Regions from separate parts of the Homo sapiens genome. Here all the other regions are linked to region 3. The links are contacts of gene promoters, found by promoter capture Hi-C in blood cells and fetal thymus (Javierre and others, 2016). All regions are on one chromosome and are shown on one strand. The core of a region is centred on a gene start or on the middle of the fragment in contact, and the rest is flanking DNA. Distances in the headings are between cores, read along the strand shown.

Region 1 (3,492 bases), core at 72-2,571, 760 kb before region 3:
CCACACCTGGCTAATTATTTATTTATTTATTTATTTATTTATTTATTTATTTATTTTGAGACAGGGTCTTGCTCTGTATCCCAGGTGGAGTGCAATGGCACAATCTTGGCTCACTGCAACCTCCACTTCTTGGGTTCAAGCAATTCTCCTGCCTCAGCCTCCCCAGTAACTGGGATTACAGGCACCCGCCACTACACCCGGCTAATTTTTGTATTTTTAGAGGAGACTGGGTTTCACCATGTTGGCCAGGTCAGTCTCAAATTCCTGACCTCAGGTGATCCACTTGCCTCAGCCTCCCAAAGTGCTGGGACTACAGGTGTGAGCCACTGCGCTGGGTGCTAATTTTTTATTTTTATTTTATTTATTTATTTTTTTTTGAGACAGAGGCTCGCTCTGTCACCCAGGCTGGAGTGCAGTGGTGCAGTCTCGGCTCACTGCAACCTCCGCCTCCCGGATTCACGCCATTCTCCCACCTCAGCCTCCCGAGTAGCTGGGACTACAGGCACCCGCCACCACGCCCGGCTAATTTTTTTTTTTTGTATTTTTAGTAGAGACGGGGTTTCACCGTGGTAGCCAGGATGGTCTCGATCTCCTGACCTCGTGAGCCACCCACCTCCACCTCCCAAAGTGCTGGGATTACAGGCGTGAGCCACCGCGCCCAGCCTATTTTTTATTTTTTTGTGGAGACAGGGCTCCCTATGTTACCCAGGCTGGTTTCTAACTCCTAGCCTCAAGTGGTCCTCCCAAGTTGCTGGGATTACAGACATAAACCACCATACCCCAGTGAACTTTGAAGTATGTATGTAATCAGTAGACAGTATTTGTGAAGTTAGAGCATAATGTTGTAGTTTATGAAGATTTGGGATGATGTAAAGTTTGGCCAGTGTGATGATATATAAAAATCACAAATATGATAATAGAAGTAAAAGACTCAGTCTGTCCTGGTTCTCTGCAGGGTTATACATACAAAATTGCTGTATATTACTCAGTTTGAAATTTCAGGAAGACAAGTTAATTGGGCAAGAGTTCTTGGGTCACAGACCACCACTTTCCCCATCCCTATTCCTCCTTTAAAAAAATCCGTTGGGAAGTCATAAAACTTCAGCTACATTCCAGATTGGGGAAGTAATTTGAGTAACAAGTAGGTCAAGTGTAGACGCATTCATTCTGGTGGAAACAGAAGGGTCTTACTTGGGGAGATGTGATTGGGAGCTAGGCTGAGGAATTTAGCTTTTAATCTGTATGTCAGTTATCATTGCTGTCATTTATTTCATTAGTCTCACCAAGTCATCTGTGTCCCACTGGGGATTTAACATCGAATTATGGATGTTATGGATAGTTTCAGCTTCTCTGTGTCATGATCAAGGGGTGTTTTGTTTTTGGGGTTTTTCTTGTGTGTTTGTTTTGAGACAGGATCTCTCTCTGTCTCCCAGGCTGGAAGGCAGGGACATGATCTCTGCTCATTGCAACCTCTGCCTTCTGGGTTCCAGTAATTCTCCCACCTCAGCCTCCGGAGTAGCTGGGGCTACCGGTGTGCATCACCACACCTGGCTAATTTTTGTTATTTTCTTGTAGAGACAAGGTTTTGCCATGTTGGCCAGGCTGATCTCGAACTCCTGACCTCAAATGATCTGTCCGCCCCAGCCTCCCAAAGTGCTGGGATTACAGACATGAGCCACCTTTTATTAAAAGAGGCCACCTGGCCTCTTTTATTTTTAAAAATTTTTAAATTTTAATTAAAATACATTTTAAAACTTTTCTATAAGCATTAAGAAATAAATTTCACGGCTGGGCACGGTGGCTTACGCCTGTAATCCCAGCACTTTGGGAGGCTGAGGTGGGCAGATCACGAGGTCAAGAGATCGAGACCATTCTGGCCAACATAGTGAAACCCTATCTCTACTAAAGATACAAAAATTAGCTGGGCATGGTGGCGTGTGTCTGTGTATAGTCCCAGCTACTCAGGAGGCTGAGGCAGGAGAATTGCTTGAACCCAGAAGGCAGAGGTTGCAGCGAGCCGAGATCGCGCCACTGCACTCCAGCCTGGCGACAGAACGAGACTCCGTCTTAAAAAAAAGAAAAAAAAAGAAATTTCAGCTATTAAAGGTTCTGCAGAAATAGACCACATAGATATATTAAAATATATGACTTTGGCTGGGTGTGGTGTCTTACATTGAACATTGTGGTTCACAAGGTTCAAGCCCCATCTATCTAAGCCCCCCCCCCCTTTTTTTTAAATCTTTGGGAACTTTGGTTAAAATTTTTAAAGTTTACACAGTGGCTCATGCCTGTAATCTCAGCACTTTGGGAGGTCAATGTGGGCAGATCATTTGAGTCCAGGACTTCCAGACCAGCCTGGACAACATGGCAAAACCCTGTCTCTACAAAAAAATACAAAAAATTGACCAGATGTGATAGTGTGCACCTGTAGTCCCAGCTAGTGGAGAGGGTGAGGTGGGATGATTACCTGACCCAGGAGGTTGAGGCTGCAGTGAGCCATGATTGCACCACTGCACTCCAGCCTGCATGACAGTGAGACCATGTCTCAAAAAAAAAAAACAATTTAGGTTAAGATTGGACAATGAATGTGTGGGTGCAGTCAACTTTTTTTTTTTTTTTTTTTTTCTTTTTTTTTTTTTTGAGAGTCTTGCTCTGTCGCCCAGGCTGGAGTTCAGTGGCTCAATCTCGGCTCACTGCAACCTCCACCTCCTGGGTTCAACCGATTCTCCTGCCTCAGCCTCCCAAGTAGCTGGGATTACAGGCGTGTGCCACCACACCTTGCTGATTTTTGTATTTTTAAAGTTCAGCAGTTGATTCTCCTGTATACCCAACACTGCTCTATTTAAAACGAGGAGGTGGCCTGGCGTAGTGGTTCACGTCTGTAATCCCAACACTTTGGGAGGCCAAGGCGGGCAGATCACAAGGTCAGGAGTTTGATTTTTTTATTTTTTTTGAGACGGAGTCAAGGTCAGGAATTTGAGACCAGCCTGGCCAATATGGTGAAACCCTGTGTCTGTTTTTTTTGTTGTTTTGTTTTTTGTTTTTGTTTTTGTTTTTCTTTTCGAGACAGAGTCTCGCTCTGTCGTCCAGGCTGGAGTGCAGTGGCGCCATCTCGGCTCACTGCAAGCTCCGCTTCCTGGGTTCACGCCATTCTCCTGCCTCACCCTCCCGAGTAGCTGGGACTACAGGTGCCTGCCACCACACCCAGCTAATTTTTTGTATTTTTAGTAGAGACAGGGTTTCACCGTGTTAGCCAGGATGGTCTCGATCTCCTGACCTCATGATCCACCCCTCTCGGCCTCCCAAATTGCTGGGATTACAGGTGTGAGCCACCGCGCCTAGCCGAAACCCCATCTCTACTAAAAATACAAAACTTACTCAGGCATGGTGGCAGGCGCCTGTAGTCCCAGCTACTCGGGAGGCTGAGGCAGGAGAATAGTTTGAACCCGGGAGGTGGTGGTTGCAGTGATCTGAGATCACACCGTTGCACTG
Region 2 (3,571 bases), core at 238-2,737, 540 kb before region 3:
CCAGGCATGCCACCCTCCAGGAATCTCCACATGTTCAGCTATCCAGAAGCTCTCCGTACCCCATCCTCTTGGGCCTTTTATGGAGACTTCATTGGATATGCATGACTGAAGCATAGATAACCATGTAGATAGGTGATCAGGCAAAAAGGGTATGATCTAATACCAACAGACCGAGTGGGGAAACCCAGCCAGGCCTGTTTGTTCAGATTCTTCTTGGCCTCTCTGTGCAGGATTCCTTCCTGTGGGTGTGAGGCAGGACTCCTGAAGTGGGTGTCTTGTGACCTACAATCAGACAAGGTAGGTCAGAGAATTTCTTTATTGCCGGCTCCAAGACAGAACAGTGGAGGAATATTAGAGTATATTTTTAGTTTCTATGGCCTCCCTTGGGGAGAAAAAGCAGCAGGTGAAAGGAGTGCCACAGGCCTGTTTCTGGGGCCTAAAGCACCCCAACATTGTAACAAAAGACTTCCACCTTTATCACTCTGAAGCTGTTTGGAAGCTACTTCAGGAACCAAGGAGAAATACTTTAACAAAATACATGCTTATTTTAGTTACTTAGGAAATAACAAGAACTATGGAACCAGGAATCATGGACAAAAACCCATATACGATAATAATATCACATTCCAGAATAGGCAAATCTATACAGAGAGAAAGTAGATTAGTGGTTGCCTGGGGCTGGGGCAGAGAAATGAGGGAAGGATGAGGAGTAACTCAATGGACATAGGGCTTTCTTTTTGGGAGGAGAGGATGAAAATGCTCTAAAACTAGATTGTGCTGATGGTGTCACAACCCTCTAATATACTGAAAAACATTCACCTTACAATTTAAATGAGTGAATTGTATGGTATGTGAATTATGTCTCAATAAAGTTATTTTTTTAATGTGTAAGAAAAAATGTAACTGAACTTATCACTGTACACAAAAATGATACAAGTTGTAATCCATTAATTTCAAGATGCAAAAATAAACACATACATTTGGGAAAAATAAGTTGTACAAAGAAAAAAAGTAAAAACCAAAGGAAAATTAGTTTTTAGGTGTTAAACGCCCTGCCCTTAGGAAACGATATACTTAAATAGGGTTCTGTCTGAAATATGAAGCCTTCGAGGTCTATGCCTCGAATTTCCCCAGTTGGGTAGGAGGTACCCTATCCCAGGGCACAAAGAATGAGGGAAATAAACCAACTACTGACGCCTATCAATATGACATTGGCTAGGTAGGGGGGTGATTAAAAAGGCAAGACCTAGCAAAAACAGTCTGCTGTTTCTCAGTAAATAAGTCTTTGAGGGAAAAAAACCCACACATCATTACATGATCCTTAAACCCTATGAGTGTTAGCTGGCAACCATTTTAAAGGACAACTCATCCACTTTCTTTTTTTCAGTTTCAGACTCAATTCTTCTGATGAATCATGAACACATTTGCTACAGACCTATGGCTGTTGTCTCATGCCTGCAATTATTTTTGTTTTAGTAGTAATACAAAGAACTCATGTACAGAGTACAGATATCAATTCTCCCTTATTGGCTGAGAATCTCAAAGAATTTATTATCTTTCACTAGTGACACCTCATTACATATAAGCTGAGGGAAGTAGTGAGGATTACTTTTAAACTGTAAAGTTTTTTTTCATTGCTAGATGGAAACAATTGTTGAGCCTGCAGGTACAGAGACCGTGTGACACCAAGTCACTGTGTGAGCTTTCCTGGGCCAACAGAGACCACGTGACACCAAGTCACTGTGTGAGCTTTCCTGGGCCATAAAGTGGAGACAGTAATTACTCCTAACCCCCTCATAATGTCTTTTTGTAATTGTAACACAAATATGAAAGCACTTTGAAAACTTGAAGGTATATCTATGACTAAAGAAATGGTTGGGTATGGTGGTTCATGCCTGTAATCCCAGCACTTTGGGAGGTCGAGGTGGGTGGATCACCTGAGATCAGGAGTTTGAGACCAGCCTGGCCAACATGCTGAAACCCCGCCTCTACTAAAACTACAAAAAAATTAGCTGTGCATTGTGGCGGGTGCCTGTAGTCCAGCTACTTGGGAGGCTGAGGCAGGAGAATTGCTTGAACCCGGGAGGTGGTTACTGTGAGCCGAGATCGCGCCACTGCACTCCAGCCTGGACGACAGAGTGAGACTCCAGAGCTCCGAAAGGAGTCTCGCTCTGTCGTCCAGGATGGAGTGCAGTGGCGCGATCTCGGCTCACATATATACATATATATATACGTATATATATATGTGTATATATATACACGTATATGTGTATATATACACATATATACGTATATATGCATATATATACACATATATATATGCATATACACATATACGTGTATATATATACACATATACACTTATATACGTATATATGTGTATATATACATAAACATGTGTGTATATATATACATATACATATGTGTATATATACGTATATACGTATATATATGTGTATATATACATAAACATGTGTATATATATATACATATATATATGTAGCCTAGGAAAAAAGGCAAACTAGTGATATAAAAAGTTCAAGTTTCCAAGATATTTAAACCTAAACATTAGCTAATTTGGAGTGGCGGTCAACTGGTAACTTCCAAAACATTAGTAGGCTGTCTCCATCATTTAGCACAGAAGCCTATTTAGCTCACCAATCATGGGTGGTCACCACTGGTAGGGACTGACACCTCCCTGATCAGATCCCTGAGTACGCTTCAGTATATAGGTCTGAAGACTGTTCTGCCCTTTCCCTGAGACGTGGCCCCACAGCATCTGAGATGCCCATGACTGATGTGGTATAAACAGGTTGACTGGGGAGGGTGTAGATAAATAGGCACTTTTAAAAGGTATTGATAGAGTGTAAATTATTAAATCTTTATGGAAAGCAGGACAATTTTTCAACATCTCATTAAAGCATATATAAAACGTGTTTCCTGCTAAATATAGCTAAAAACATGAGGCGTTACATTTAAGACAAAACAAGACTGTGAAAGGTGGAGAGAAGGAAGCAGACTGGCTAGGAACCAGAGGACCCAAAGAAAGAGCATTGAGGTTTTTTTTTTTTTTCTTTCTGTCAGGGTCTTGCTCTGTTGCCCAGGCTGGAGTGCAGTGGTGTGATCTCGGCTCACTGCAGCCTGGACCTCCCAGGCTCAAGTGATTCTCCCACCTCAGTCCCCCAAGTAGCTGAGACTACTACAGGCGCACATCACCATGCCTGGCTAATTTTTGTATTTTTTATAGAGACAGTTTTGCCATGTTGGCCAGGGTGGCCTCGAACTCCTGACCTCAAGTGTCAGACTCCCAAAGTGCTAGGATTACAGGTATGAGCCACCACACCCAGCCGAGCACTGAGTTCTTGATTTTCTTTATGCTTCATGTGTTTCAGACCTGGGTACTCGAGAAGCCTACAACCCAGAAATGCCAACAGGTGTAGACAAAGAAAACTACAAACAGAAACCTGTTCTCTCTAGCCAAAGGACCAGGAAAAGAGCAGCAAGATGGAAAACTTTTAAAGTTTTAAACAACAATTGCTCTACTGCGGCCAAATTCCACAGGAAATATCCT
Region 3 (3,553 bases), core at 1,054-3,553:
TATGTTGGCCTCTGCACTACAAGAAGAAGAAGAAAAAAAAAGAAATAAGAAAACCAATTTAGTCTGTGAGGTTAGATGCAAGAGGGAGGCAGTCATGTTAGATTTCTCTCATGACTTACAATTCTGCAAAGGTGGTTTCACCTCCACGGCAGGCCACCTCTCCCTGGGTATAGGGCACATCTTCGTCCTGCAGAGCAGGCAAGTCCCTCTCTCTCCCCACCTCCTCACCCCTTCTTGCCCCCACTGGCCAATCTTCATGAATCCTTCAGCCCCATGTTGTCCTAGCAGACACTTTGCAGCAACCACTCAGAGGGCCTGGCTGATTTCTAAGCTAGGCAGTTTCTTCCACTGTCATTTGGATGAGATTCCTTGCACAAACATTTTTGCACAGTTGCCCAGTGTTTTAAGTATTCAGGTCTCATAGTCTTAAAAACTGCCTCTGCCTTCCCAGGAGAGAACAAGGGCTCCAAGGGGAGCCCAGGTGCTCTGGCCAGACAGAGGACATTAAAAGGAACAGAAATGGTTTTAGACAGCTAGAGGGATCTGCTCAGGGGATATTTGGGCAGAGCCTCCTCCTTGAGAAGGGTAGGAGCCAGATCCACAGACGAAGACCCTTAGAGCCTGCCCATCCCTGCTGGCACAAGGGGAGGATGGGGAGAGAGGGACCATACGCAGGCCTCCTGGCTTCTGTATGTGGGTCCTGAGGCCCAGGAAGCTCTACAGCCCTGAAGAGGTAGATGAATTAGGAGGCTGGGAGATGGTGTAGGAGGTCAAGAGGATGCCTGGGCTGAGCCATCTCCCCCACTCCCCTCAGCCCTGTGCTCTGAGTGCAGAGATGGGGAAGAGCCAGCCCACTAAAGATGTCAGAGAGGAGCCAAAGAAAAAGGATAGGTGCTCAAGGAGTCTGGGGCTCAAGACTGAGGACGATGGGGCAGTGATGAGGAGAGGCATGTGGAAGGGGGTTGCATCTGATCTGGTGTCCCATCAGTTAGGCTGAGCAGTGCCACACTACCGTAACAGAGGTTACAAATGGAGTATATCTAAATAAGATAGACAGAAGACTTGATATTATCAAGACATCAGATTTCCCCAGCTTGATCTATAGATTCAATGCAATCCCAATCTTGGGAAAGGAATTGCTGGATCAATGTGTATTATTTTGTTTTCATTTTGTTGGATGTGGTTGCCACATTGGCTTCCACAGTCCTTCCTATGGATTGCCAATTACCTCGCACCTTCAACATGTGTGGTCAATTTTTTTGAATGTTTGATAAACCCACAACTGAAGATATTCTCATTTAGGTATTCTGTAACGACTGGACAGGTTGGGCACTCTGGTCATAAATTTATTGACCAGGATTTCTTCTAAGAATCATCTACGTGAGTTTTTTTGCTAATTTTTCTATTAAATTATTGTCTTTTTATCTATGGACAATTTGATAAGATTATCATGAGATAATCTTAATTCCAAAATATCTCACACTTTATCCCAGTTTATCTTCTGACTCTAATTTTTAATCAGATTTAAAATTTGTCTGTAGTCCAGTTTATCATTCTTTTCCTTTAGTGTTTCCAAGTTTATTGTGATATTTAGATCATAAAAACATTCACCGACTTTTTTCCAGTACGTTGTTGGTTTCCTTTTTAGATGGAAATGTTTGACCCATCTGGAATTTATTTTGGTGTTAAGGAATGAGGAAGGGCACCAACTTCTATTTTTCCAAATGGCCTGCCAGTTGTCCTAATGCCATTCGACTGAAAAATCTTCCCGCGTGTTTGAAGCGACCGCCCCACCAGCGCATTGGAAACCCGCGTGTCGGTCCTGCGCCCGCCGGCTTCCGTGTGACAGTCCCGAGCGCAGAGGGATCGGGCACAGCCCGCACGCGTCCGCCCCGAGCCGCCGGCTCAACCCTAGACCCAGCCCCGGCGCCAAGGACACAGCCCACCCCGCTCCGCCCGGGCCTAGGTCCCAGTTCACCCTCCCTAGCCGGGGACGCCCCCTTGACCCCGCCTCCTCCACCCCCTCCAACACCCTCCCCGCCCCGCTCCAGCCCAGCCTCTCCTCCCGGAGGCCAATGGGGCCGAACAGCGCTTTCCGAGACATTAATTTAAATAAAAGGCGGGTCCTCTGCCGTTATTTGCATGGAGGCGGGTCTTCCGGAGCGGCCGGGACACCCAATCCTGTAGGAGCCCGGACCCTCCCCAGCGCTCCGACTGGCCCAAGTAGCGAGCCCCACGGAGAGGCCTCATTTGCATAGGGCGGGGCCACGTCCTCTTCCAGCCGGCGGCCGCCCGCCCGCCCACCCGCTTCCGTCAGCCTCACTGGGGCTTCCTTCCGTCTCGCTCGGAGTTTCCCTCTGCGTTCGCTCCGCGCTGCTGGAGGCTGTCGTCCCAATGCTCCCCAAACGGCGGCGAGCGCGGGTCGGGTCCCCTAGCGGCGATGCCGCTTCCTCCACGCCGCCCTCGACGCGCTTCCCGGGAGTCGCCATCTACCTGGTCGAGCCTCGCATGGGTCGCAGCCGCCGGGCCTTCCTCACAGGCCTGGCGCGCTCCAAAGGCTTCCGCGTCCTTGACGCCTGCAGGTGCGGGGCGGCGCGGCGCGGCGAGGGCTTCCATGGCACTTCTGGTTTTGGATTCTAAGTTTGCAGTGGCACTTCGTGGTCTTGTGACCTTTCCCTGAGCCTCCATCTCCTCTTCTGTAAAGGGTGCTATTAATTAGGGCGAGGCGTGTTTTAAAGGATCACTGCGAGAATCAAAACCAGAGGTCAGGGGTAATTAATAAGCAGTAGGCCGGGCGCGGTGGCTCACGCCTGTAATCCCAGCACTTTGGGAGGCCGAGGCGGGCAGATCACGAGGTCAGGAGATCGAGACCATCCTGGCTAACACGGTGAAACCCCGTCTCTACTAAAAATACAAAAAATTAACCGGAGGTGGTGGCGGGCACCTGTAGTCCCAGCTACTCGGGAGGCTGAGGCAGGAGAATGGCATGAACCTGGGAGGCGGAGCTTGCAGTGAGCCGAGATCGCGCCACTGCACTCCAGCCTGGGCGACAGAGTGAGACTCTGTCTCAAAAAAAAAAAAAAAAAAAGTCGTATTTGCTAACAGCCCTTCTGCCTGGGCTATGTCCCACCTGTGAGCGAGACTGACTTCTCAAGAGGCCCGGAGCCCGCAGGCTCCTCTGTCCTCAGGCCTGAGTAAATAACACGACTGAGAAGCTCTTGTAGGAAGGGAACCAAGAGAAGAAAAAATGGCGGCTACAGAGACAACACCCAGAGTAAGGGAGCTGGGGGTGCCCCCTAGTTTGGAGGTTGAGAGAGCAAACGAACCTGGGGCTAGTATTCCCCCACAGTTGTGTTTGATTTTTTAACATTACCAGGGATCAGTAGTGCGCCAGACCCACTCAGGAGAGGATGATAGCAGCTTAGAGTGTACAAGGCACTATCTTTGTACAACAACCCCACAGGGTGGATATGTTATCTCTGCTTTACAGAAGAGGAAATCAAAGTATAGACACGTGGCTTGCCCAAGAGCCAAACAAGTATGTGGCAGGCAG

The links. The method cuts DNA at HindIII sites, captures the fragments that hold promoters and counts their contacts. A CHiCAGO score of 5 or more calls a contact.
Region 1: a contact is called between a fragment that was not itself captured here and the fragment with the promoter of POLM in region 3, in 1 of 17 cell types (neutrophils). The highest score is 6.0, in neutrophils.
Region 2: a contact is called between a fragment that was not itself captured here and the fragment with the promoter of POLM in region 3, in 1 of 17 cell types (neutrophils). The highest score is 5.0, in neutrophils.

Annotation. Positions count from the first base shown.
Region 1 is chr7:44,836,567-44,840,058 of GRCh38, reverse strand. All of the region lies in intron 3 of H2AZ2 (H2A.Z variant histone 2), which reads left to right. Among named protein-coding and RNA genes, the nearest start is that of H2AZ2, 9.8 kb to the left of the region's middle. The HindIII fragment of the contact is 6,713 bases long and covers 1-3,492 here.
Region 2 is chr7:44,615,535-44,619,105 of GRCh38, reverse strand. The region is part of intron 1 of OGDH (oxoglutarate dehydrogenase); the gene reads right to left. Among named protein-coding and RNA genes, the nearest start is that of OGDH, 11 kb to the right of the region's middle. The HindIII fragment of the contact is 6,053 bases long and covers 1-3,571 here.
Region 3 is chr7:44,081,280-44,084,832 of GRCh38, reverse strand. It overlaps POLM (DNA polymerase mu), which reads left to right and starts at 2,303. Exons shown (of 11, transcript NM_013284.4): 1 at 2,303-2,582. The coding sequence starts at 2,395. RefSeq lists a silencer at 1,738-2,317 and an enhancer at 2,029-2,529. The HindIII fragment of the contact is 8,170 bases long and covers 1-3,553 here.